2 separate regions of the Homo sapiens genome follow, and region 2 is linked to region 1. The links are contacts of gene promoters, found by promoter capture Hi-C in human tissues and cell types (Jung and others, 2019). All regions are on one chromosome and are shown on one strand. Each heading gives the region's core, a stretch centred on a gene start or on the middle of the fragment in contact. The rest is flanking DNA. Distances are from core to core; before and after follow the strand shown. Region 1 holds the start of ANKRD66 (ankyrin repeat domain 66). Region 2 overlaps RCAN2 (regulator of calcineurin 2).

Region 1 (5,483 bases), core at 964-3,463:
CATACTAGTTACCCATCAAGTATTTGTTCAATGAAATCAAGCTGAACCAGAACTGTTACAAATCTCAGAAAGGGTGATGAGACACTGAGCTCTTTGAGGGTGGGGAAGGGGTCTCATATGCATCTTTCTGGCTTGTGATAGTTACACATTAAACTCTACTCCCTTTTACATGGTTGACAGCTACTCCTTATAACCACATTCTTCTCCTCTTGGCTTCTGTAAGACTCAGTTCTCCTGGTTTCCCTCCTACCTCTCAGTGGTGCTTCTTAATAACCTTTGCTAATTATTCTTTGCTGCCAGATCTAAGGGCCTCAGAGCTTGGGTCTCCTCTCTGCATTTGCTATCCTTAGATTATCTTATATACTCTTACATCTTTAAATGTCACCTATGTGCTGATAACTCCAGAATATGTATCTTTAGCCCAAAGTCACAGAACTCTGGATTCCTACTTGATATTTGGGTGTCTCATAGGTATCTCAAACTTAACACATTGAAACAGAACGCTTCATTTATACTGTCCTTCCCTTACCCAAACCTGGCCCTACCCTAGTCACCTCCTACCACGAATGTGAGCACCTTCCACCAGGTTCGTCAAGCCAGAAACCTGAGGATCATCCTTGATGCCCTCTTTCCCCCCAGTACTCATGTCTAATCCATTGGCAACTTCCATCAATGTTCCCTCCTAAAAAACTTTTAATTTCACTCACTTCTTTCATCTCTATGGCCACAGTTCACCAAGTCACCATCCTTTCTTGTCTGGACTTCCACGGTAGCCTCCTCAGCAATCTTCCTGCTTTCAATCTTGTCTCCTTTTGCTCCATTTTCCACATAATAGTCAAAGTAGTCTTTTAAGAAAATAAAAGTTGCACATTCTTCTTCGTTGTTTAAGTGCTTCCAATGTCTACTCGTTGTACTTGGAATACAATCCAAACTCCTTACCATGTCCTAGTAGACCGGGAATGATCTCATCTTCTACTTGCCCCACACTGCATAAACCAGCTGCATCCTCCTCTTCTTCATTCTTCACCTAAGCCAAGCTCCTCCCCTCCCTCTACCTAGGTCATCTTCCTAGCTCTTCAGATGCCTGATTTCTTCTGCTCTGCCAGGTCTCCCCTCAGACCCTCAAATGTCATCCCCTAAGTTGCCCATACTCCTTTCCTGGTGTTCTCTGCTATTGTATGTTGTTTGTTCATTGTACTCGTACAGGTTGTGAGTCTACTTGTGTACGTTTATTTGTTTTCTTGTTTATTCTTATCTAGACCAAAAGCTCAAGGACGACAGGAACAATGGGTATCTTGATCTTCACAGGGCCCAGTACAGTGGTGCTTGACAGATATAAGGCATTCACTAAATACATATGGGAAGAAAGGCAGGGAGAGAAATGGATGGAGAATGAGGGAGGTGGGAAAGATAGTAAGAGAGAGAGAGTGAGAGAGAGGAACTCCCTTCAGAGAAAGGGAAAAAGAAAAGGAAGGAGAGAGGGAAAAGGCAGGGAAAATGTAGAAAGAGAGGAAGAAGAAATAAGGTCTTTTTGACCAGCATCATCATCAATATGGTAGATTTTCGCTTAGAGCAAGGGGTAAAAAGAGGAAGCAAAAAGAAAGCACCTAGGAATTTTTATTTGGTTCTCCTTCTCCTTCTCCTTCTCCTTCTCCTCCTCCTCCTCCTCCTTCTCCTCCTTCTTCTTCTTCTTTTTGTAAAAGCATCTACCCTGTGCCAAGTGTTTTCTAAATTATTTTAGCTAGTCATATTTAATAGCACTATAAAAAAAAGATGTTAAAATTTCATGTTATTGGTGAGAAAAAAAAAAAAGAAAAGAAAAAAGCCTCTCTAAAGTTAAGGAACTTGCCCAAGACCTGACAGCTGCTTCTGAATGTGAGGAGCCCACACTGTCCCCACTCCCCCACAGGTCTCACATCTCTTATGGTTATGTGGTCTGTAAGCAGCCTACCTCCGTCACAGTATTATGTGGGCAGACAATCATTCACAGCTTTTTAAATTTTATTTTACTTTTATTTTTTGCATTAAATACTATTTGAAAGAACCTGTTAAGGGCCAACACATTTGGACTAAAAAAGATGGCTGGAACTGCTGAAGAGTTAGGGTGTGAAGCAGACTGGCAATCCCACCCCACCAGACACCTAGGGAAGCTGAAGTTGACTGGCTGGCTTTCATGCAGAAGGAGGAGTCAGTTTCCATGGCATGGACACAACACTCCGGATGGTTAGGACTGCCTGTCAGCACAGAGCTCCTCAAATTTCACACAAGACAGTAAGTGTTTTTAAGTTACCCTCTCTTATTTACTATAGTTATTAAAAATCACTCACATTTATTAAAACTGATATTTATTGACTACTTTGCACTTGATTTCCTATCTTTATGGTAGATGTGCCTCTACCAGAAAGATAGGAAATCAAGTGCATTTAATCAAATTCACAAGGATTGGTTACTAAAGGAACCAATTGATAAATTTCAGTAGTCAATGCCAAGCTAGTGAGTTGTATATATTTTCTGCAAACAAATTGTGTTTGTTTTTGTTTTGTAGAAAGCTTCTAATTAATAGTTTTTTGTAAAGCAGCTTTGTTAAAATACAATTCACATACCATAAAACTGGATTCATTTAAAATGTAGAATTCAGTGGTTTTGGGCCTTTTGGAGTTGTGAAAGCATCTAATCTAATTTAAGAACATTTCATCACCCCAAAAAGAAATCCTGTACTTATCAGCAGTCACTCCCCACCCCAACCTCCATCGCAGCCCTAGGCTGCCTATAGTCTACATTCTAGCTATCTAGATTTGCTTATTCTGGGCATTCCACATACATGGAGGTATGCAATATGTGGTCTTCTGTAACTGGCTTCTTTCACTTAGCATGTTTCAAGGTTCATCCATAAAGTATGTATCAGTACTTCATTCCTTTTTATTGCCAAATAAGAATGCTTTATATGGATATTCCACATTTTGTGTATCTATTCATCTATTGATGAACCTTTGGGATGTTTCCACTTTTGCCTCTTATAAATAATGCTTCTAAGAACATACATGTACAAATGTTTATATGGATATATGTTTTTCTTCTCTTGGGTATATAGCTCATTGGAATACTCAGACTTTCCCATTTCAAAACTTACTACAAACCTGCAGTAATCAGGACTGTGTAGTACTAGCATAAAGATAGATATTTAGAGCAACGGAGTAGATCTGAGAGTCTAGAAAAAACCCTTATATTTATGTTCAATTGTTTTGTGGCAATTGTTGTCAAGTATAAAAATTAACTCAAAACGGATCACAGACCTAAAAGTAAGTCTTAAAACTATAAAACTCTTAGAGGAAAACACAGGAATACATCTTTGTGAGGGAGAGGACCAACTTCATTCTTTTAGCTGTAGATATCCAGTTGTCTCAGCATCATTTATTGAAAAGACTATTATGTTGTCACTGAATTTTCCTGGCATACTTATTGGAATCAGGAAGTGTGAGTCCTCTAACTTTGCTCTCTTTCAAGATTGTTTTCTTCTGGGTCCCTTGCATTTCCATATGATTTTTTAGAATCGGCTTTTCCATTTCTCTGGAAATAAATTTTGCTGCCTAATGCTTCCACTTGAATTGCAACTCACCCATGGAAAGTTATGGAATCTTGGCATGAACTCAAATGTGGGACAAATGGGGTTAGTTGAAATGTACACCTGCTTAAAGGCCTCTATGAAAGGCAAGCGAAAAACTTCTAGATACTGATTTAAAAAATGGTTTTATTTTAGTGGCACCCTCAGATTAGAAACACTCTAGCATTTTTGTTTACTATTCTATCATTGATCAAACACTCCAGTGTAAGGGATTTCTATTAAAATGAATTTTGAAAGTAAAATGCAGTCTGTGCCATCTTCTCTTTTACCTAACATAGTATGTACAGAGCATCTACTTCACAAAACATGCCCAATCCTTGTCCTGCACACCCAAAGATTCTGATTCCTTTTGGACTGAGGCCCAGGCATCTGTATTTTTGAAAATCCACTGCTGATTCTCATGTATCCCCTCAGTTGAGAACAGCTGCCACATCCTTACTCCCTCCTCAGCTCTCCAATTTTGCTTCCAGCCAGTCTATACCTTACTTTTCAGCCACAAAGATATTGCTACTCAGAGTGTGGTAAGTGAGCTAGTACCGTTGTGAGAACTTGTTACAATGCAGAATCTCAGGCCAGGTTCCAGACCTACTAAATCAGAATCTGCATTTTAACAAGGTCTCTAATGATTTGCCTATATCAGAGGCTAGCACACTATGGTCTACAGGCCAAATCTGGCTCACCCCACTTTCGTAGGCCCGTGGTCACCATTTAAGGTGTTGAACCTCCATGGGATAGCACAGTGAGACTCCCAGAGCAAGCCCAGGCAATGCCCTCTGCCCCTGCTGGCCCCTCAGCAGCCCACAGCTGTGCCTGGCCACTGCCCAGGCCCTGCTGGTCACCACCTACACAATGGAGACTCTGCTGGTGGCAACTGCTGGGACTGAGCAGTGGAATCTCAGTATGGGAGTTGGTGGCTCCATGAGCCTCCATGTCTCCTGCCAACTAACTGGAGATGACCCCTCTAGGAGGAGAGAAAGTTCACTGGGATCTGAGCATCACTAGGGCAGAGTGAAACTGACCATCTCACCGACCAGGCCCTTCCCCCTCAGGCTTGTCCTCGTTCGCCTAAGAATATCTCCACCTGAGGGCTCCAGGGTACAAAGAGGGTAGAAAGATCCACCCCAGGCAAGGGGGGCAGGGTGGAGCAGGAGTTTTCTTTCCTACATATATGTAATAGACTCTTGGCATAATTTTTTTTTCTCTTTTATTCCCCCCCCCCCCCCCCCGCTTTTTTCTTTTCCTCTTGGCATAAAAATATTTACTATCTGGTTCTTTACAGAAAAAGTTTATTGACTCTTGGTTTACACATTAGGAACTACTTCCCCTTTGCAGCATGTGACTCTGGACACATACATGCTGTCTTTCAGCTGGGGATACTCCACCTCCATCAGTCGCCAATATGTCTCTGACCCATCGCATCAGGACCCAGCTTAGGCCACTTTTAGAGAAAGCTCTTTTACTTTCCGGTCTTTGTGAATGGTTCTTTCTCTCTGTCCTCTGGGCATTTAGGGCATTGCATTTTAATTACGTTTACTTTTCTTTCTCTCCCTCCAGGGCTGTTCTCACATTTCAATGCACTCACCTGGAGGGCTTACCACAACAAAGATGGCCGGACCCCTGCCCAGAGTTTCAGATTCTGTAAGTCTGGGGCTGAGCACAATAATTTGCATTTCTAACAAGTTCCCAGGGGCTGCTGCTGCTGCTGGTCACAGTTAGTGAAGTTGACTCCAGCTCCTTCTTATGATCCCAACTTAAATCTTGAGATCAGAGACATTCCCAATGGCCCCATCTCAAGTGGCACTCTCTCCACTCTTGTTTTCTAGCTCAGCTCCTTCTTTACGTCAGCAGCTCTCAACCTTTT
Region 2 (5,775 bases), core at 3,221-5,720, 340 kb before region 1:
TAAAAATTTGTGTGTGTGTGTGTTGTATGTCCAGGTAAGTATATACGTGTGTATATATGTGTGTGTTGTGTGTGTACACCGTTGGGGCTCAGAAAATGATACCCCGAAGGGAAGGCCTCTGGAGCAGCCTCAGGAGCCTCCTCTACCCTCCTGCCTTCCAGTTGCTCAGTCCCATTCTCCCCTGAGCTTGGTCATAGAAACTAGAATCCCTCTTCCCCAAGGCAAGTCAGAAACCAGAACCCTTTTCCCCAAAGCCAGCCATAAAACCTAAAAATATTACTCTAAGTTTGTCTCTGCCTTCCCATGTAAAACTGGCCATAACAAAACTATCTGACCTCCCTTATTTGACTGTAGGTCATAAGACCCCCATTGCAGAGAGGGTCCTGCCGCACACCCAGAAGGAAGGAACACTGCTCAGACAGGTCAAGAGGAGTCTTCTAGACAGACAAGCCCTGCTGGGTTTTCCCACTCCGTCTAGTAACATTAGAGTACACCCTTATTGTCCAAACATATTTCTACACAGCTGGCCATACTTTTTGAACCTAAGGATAAAAATGAACAGTTTCCCCCATATCTTTGGGTCTTTATTCTGAAGGCTCCTGTGTATACACGTTTAATGTTTGTATGCCTTTCTCTCCAATTAATCTGCCCTTTCTGAGGTGATACTTCAGCAGACTTTCACAGTGCCAAGCCCTTGGCCCCTACAACACACATACTAGGTTGCTATGCTACATTTGAATTTTTTTTTTTTTTTTGAGACGGAGTCTCGCTCTGTTACCCAGGCTGGAGTGCAGTAGCGCGATCTTGGCTCACTGCAAGCTCTGCCTCCCATGCTTACACCATTCTCCTGCCTCAGCCTCCTGAGTAGCTGGGACTACAGGCGCCCGCCACCACACCCAGCTAATTTTTTTGTATTTTTAGTAGAGACGGGGTTTCACCATGTTAGCCAGGATGGTCTCAATCTCCTGACCTTGTGATCCGCCCACCTCAGCCTCCCAAAGTGCTGGGATTGTAGGCGTGAGCCACCGCGCCCAGCCTACGTTTGATTTTTAAAAAATTCTGTGGCTGGGCACGATGGCTCACACCTGTAATCCCAGCACTTTGAGAGGCAGAGGCAGGTGGATCACCTGAGGTCAGGAGTTCAAGACCAGCCTGACCAACATGGAGAAACCCTGTCTCTGCTAAAAAAACAAAATTAGCTGGGCATGGTGGCACATGCCTATAATCCCAGTTACTTGGGAGGCTGAGGCAGGAGAATTGCTTGAACCTGGGAGGTGGAGGTTATAGTGAGCCAAGATCATGCTATTGTACTCCAGCCTGGGCAACAAGAGCGAAACTCCGTATCAAAAAAAAAAAAAAAAAATTCTGCAAGCCAGAGAGCTGTTAGTTGATTCTTGATCCTGGATCTTCAGGCTTTTTAAGACCTGCTGGTTAGATAAGGTTAGCAGAATCTACCAACAAAGGACAGAATCTAGAAAATATTTTTCATTCCTATCTAGCTTTACCTGCTCCTGCTGTTTAAAATAAATCTCTACACAAAGTGAGTTATTAATAGTAAAAAACGTTTTACAAAAAAAAGTTTTATAAAAAACTCCTTGGATAATTGTAGAGTGTTCCAGAAACAGTAGGTGTTCTGGGCCGATGAGGTGAGGTTGGATCCTCATTTGTGTCATAAGAGGTGGGGTGGAAAGGTGTGTAAGAGGTGATTTGGAGGCCAGGTGCGCTGGCTCACGCCTGTAATCCCAACACTTTGGGAGGTCGAGGAGGGTGGATCACCTAAGGTCAGGAGTTCAAGACCAGCCTGGCCAACATGGTGAAATCCCGTCTCTACTAAAAATACAAAAATTAGCTAGGTGTGGTGGTGCGTGCCTGTAGTCCCAGCTACTCAGGAGGCTGAAGCAGGAGAATCGCTTGAACCTGGGAGGCTGAGGTTGCAGGGAGCTGAGACTGCACCATTGCACTCCAGGGTGGGCAACAGAGTAAGACTCTGTCTCAAAAAAAAAAAGAGGTGATTTTGGAAGAGGGAAATGAGTGCTTGTTTGATCATAGACCATGCTGACTTGATAAATTAATCTTTACAATTTTATAGCCACCAAGTATTTACATCTATGGTGTTACATAAAAGTAATTCATTACAGGTAAAGTAAGTACCTAAATATATTTTTGTTCATGTTATTGGGGCCCTTCTTATTAAAGTTGTTGAAAACATTTTAAAGTTGTAGAAACCCTACTCTTGTTAACATTTATCCTCAAATCAGGTCTAGAGTACCTTACTATACGTTATATATCAAGTTCTTAAATGTGGGTTTGAACAAAAATTATTCTAGAAATTTAATAGAAACCATAAAATATGTATATCTTTAATATAGCCTAGAAATATATTTCTTGGTATAAGCTAAATATATTGATCTTGTGTCTACCAATTTCTTTTTAGATGTGATACAAACAAATTGCTGGATGCTAAATGTTACTAAGACAAAAATAAATAAATAGAGGCTAACCTGGTAGAGAAATGGAGGTCAGAGTCCAGGAAATCTTTATTATATGATATCATCAGATTTCTTAACACATTGCTACATCAGTTTCCCCATGGAAATCTATAGGAAAAGCAAATAACCCATATATGACTGCACCACAGGTTTTTATTTCTTCTTCCACGTACTGAAGAAAACCAATTATGTTCTCATGAGTGTATTGTAAAGATTAAACAACAGGTGAATGCAAACCATTTTGCAATAAAATATGACACTGATAAATTGCAATCTGCTAAGACTCACACTACTATCTTATAACGGGTTGGGGAAACATAGATGAAAGCGTGTCCAGAATTGGCGGGTTCTTGATCTCACCGACTTCAAGAATGAAGCCGCGGACCCTCGCGGTGAGTGTTACAGCTCTTAAGGCGGCGCATCTGGAGTCTGTCCCTTCTGATGTTCAGATGTGTTCGGAGTTTTTTCCTTCTGGTGGGTTTGTGGTCTCGCTGGGCACAGGAGTGAAGCTGCAGATCTTCACCGTGAGTGTTACAGCTCATAAAAGCAGCGTGGACCCAAAGAGCGATCAGCAGCAAGAGTTATTGCAAAGAGGGAAAGAACAAAGCTTCCACAGGGTGGAAGGGGACCCGAGCGGGTTGCCACTGCTGGCTTGGGCAGCCTGCTTTTATTCTCTTATCTGGCTCCACCCACATCCTGCTGATTGGTAGAGCCCAGTGGCCTGTTTTGTCAGGGCACTGATTGGTGCGTTTACAATCCTTGAGCTAGATATAAAGGTTCTCCACGTCCCCATCAGATTAGTTAGATACAGAGTTTCAACACACAGGTTCTCCAAGGCCCCACCAGAGCAGCTAGATACAGAGTGTCGATTGGTGCACTCACAAACCTTGAGCTAAACACAGGGTGCTGATTGGTGTATTTACAATCCCTGAGCTAGACATAAAGACTCCATGTCCCCACCAGACTCAGGAGCCCAGCTGGCTTCACCTAGTAGATCTCGCACCGGGGCTGCAGGTGGAGCTGCCTGCCAGTCCCGCACCGTGCGCTCGCACTCCTCAGCCCTTGGGTGGTCCATGGGACTGGGCGCCGTGGAGCAGGGGGTGGTGCTCCTCTGGGAGGCTCGGGCCGCACAGGAGCCCATGGAGTGGGTGGGAGGCTCAGGCATGGCAGGCTGCAGGTCCCGAGCCCTGCCCCGCGGGAAGGCAGCTAAGGCCTGGCAAGAGATCGAGCACAGCGCCGGTGGGTTGGCACTGCTGGGGGACCCAGTACACCCTCCGCAGCCACTGGCCCGGGTGCTAAGTCCCTCACTGCCCGGGGCAGCAGGGCCGGCCGGCTGCTCCGAATGCGGGGCCCGCCAAGCCCACGCCCACCCAGAACTCCAGCTGGCCCGCAAGCGCTGCGCGCAGCCCCGGTTCCTGCTCGCGCCTCTCCCTCCACACCTCCCTGCAAGCTGAGGGAGCTGGCTCTGGCCTTGGCCAGCCCAGAAAGGGGCTCTCACAGTGCAGCGGCGGGCCAAAGGGCCCCTCAAGTGCCGCCAAAGTGGGAACCCAGGCAGAGGAGGCGCCGAGAGCAAGCGAGGGCTCTGAGGAGTGCCAGCACGCTGTCACCTCTCAAAAGGGTCTCCATGCATACTCAAATTTTAAAATGTATATATATGACCTAATTTTCCCAAATAAAGTCACTCCTCCAAATCTCATTAAGTTCTGGCAGCTATTTTTTGGTCTGTTTTCATTTCTTTCTTAGGGTTCAAATGTGTTTATCAAAGCAATAAACCCTTGGTTCAGTCCTCACTGATCACTCAGCCTTCAAGGCATTAATGATTTTGATAGGAGACCAAGGACAGCTATTTGAATTTTAGGGCAATTAAAAGAAAATGTTTCTGTCAGCTCTCTTTTTTCTTAATGCTTACAAGTAACTCAGAGAGAAACAGGTTTCAATGTTCTTCTTTTAGAAAAGCCTTTGCTTTACCATAAATTGGCAGTGAACACTTTGAAAGACCCATTATGTACTTATAGAGGCTACTTCCTTGAATGGCTTGGCTATAAATTATCAGGGAACTTTCAGTGTAAACGACAGCCCTTTAATCCCTGACATTTTATATTTTATTCTCATTTCTTTATGTTACAAAAACTTAGACAGGTAGCAGATAGCTTCCCCAAGATAAAAATTACAATATTTCAGTAGAAGACTGGGTACACAATTATGTGCTGGGCGATTCAGTAACAAATACCCCCAAACTGGTCCCTCCAGACCTTTCCTGTCTGATAAGGTGACAGAGACTTCTAAAATGGACTCCAAAACCCCAAAGCAAAGTCTGAGCTCCTGGGGCATGGAACTGAGACTCTTACTGTGCCCCAGTGCCTGGAAGGCATTCAGGGGCTATTTTCCTAGTCAACTCATATCACTGAACTGTTTGGTAAAGGAGCCATAGCCTGGCAGGGGAGTAGAAAAGAGGGAGAAGCACCACAGGAGATAAAAATCAGCACACAGAAACACAACACAGGGAGAGTTCCCTTTCAGGACCTTTGGTAGAGCTAAATTTAGATGAAACCAGGTACAAAGCTAATGCAGTCAATCAAGAGCAGTATATACTGCTGTTTTTAAAAATCACATCCTTTCTATGCAGGCAGCAACCACTCATACAAAGATCTTAGCAAAAATGAAGTCTTGATTTCCCATGAAAAAGCCAGTGATGATGTAAACATTTTTAAAACAGTTGTTTTACGCAAGTCCCCATGGAAAATTCCAAGCCGACTCAGGCAAAGATCCCATCTTTAAAAGTTCACATTCAAACAGTAGTAGTAAAAGCAGAAAAATACATACTTTGGAAAAATGAAAGAGCTCGTCTTGCTATGGGCAACTGCTTTATGGAAGGAGTGCATCTTGGAGGATGAGGTGGTAAAAATATAGGTAGAGTTGAGAGAAGGGAATCCATTTCCAAATGGCTAATTGTGCATCATTTTATTTCATATACATCAATGTCCTACTTTGCAACAGGGTCAGGAAATATGTACTTAGGTGATTTTATAATTTTATATTTAACCAAGTTTGGAAACCCAAACCTTAGCCTAAAGGTGAGATTGCATAATTTTGCTATGCAGCAGACCTTTAGAAGCGTGCCTCCAAAAAGAGAAAGAGTAAAAAGAAAAAGATTGATGGAGTGCTACGTAAAAATTAAAAACTTGGCATGCCCCAAAGGATTATAAACAGAATGAGTAACTGGAAGTTCAAATGCCATCCAGCACTGAAATTGTCCATCTGGAAAACAGCAGCTTTGATTTTTCAG

Evidence for each region. Contacts are between HindIII fragments. The study calls those that stand out against the background at their distance.
Region 2: a contact is called between a fragment that was not itself captured here and the fragment with the promoter of ANKRD66 in region 1, in 1 of the 25 tissues and cell types used here (IMR-90 fibroblasts).

The regions. Positions count from the first base shown.
Region 1 is chr6:46,744,720-46,750,202 of GRCh38, forward strand. It overlaps ANKRD66 (ankyrin repeat domain 66), which reads left to right and starts at 2,214. Exons shown (of 5, transcript NM_001162435.3): 1 at 2,214-2,271; 2 at 5,177-5,260. The HindIII fragment of the contact is 7,862 bases long and covers 1-4,905 here.
Region 2 is chr6:46,402,228-46,408,002 of GRCh38, forward strand. All of the region lies in intron 2 of RCAN2 (regulator of calcineurin 2), which reads right to left. Among named protein-coding and RNA genes, the nearest start is that of RCAN2, 86 kb to the right of the region's middle. RefSeq lists an enhancer at 3,228-3,728. The HindIII fragment of the contact is 6,383 bases long and covers 1,280-5,775 here.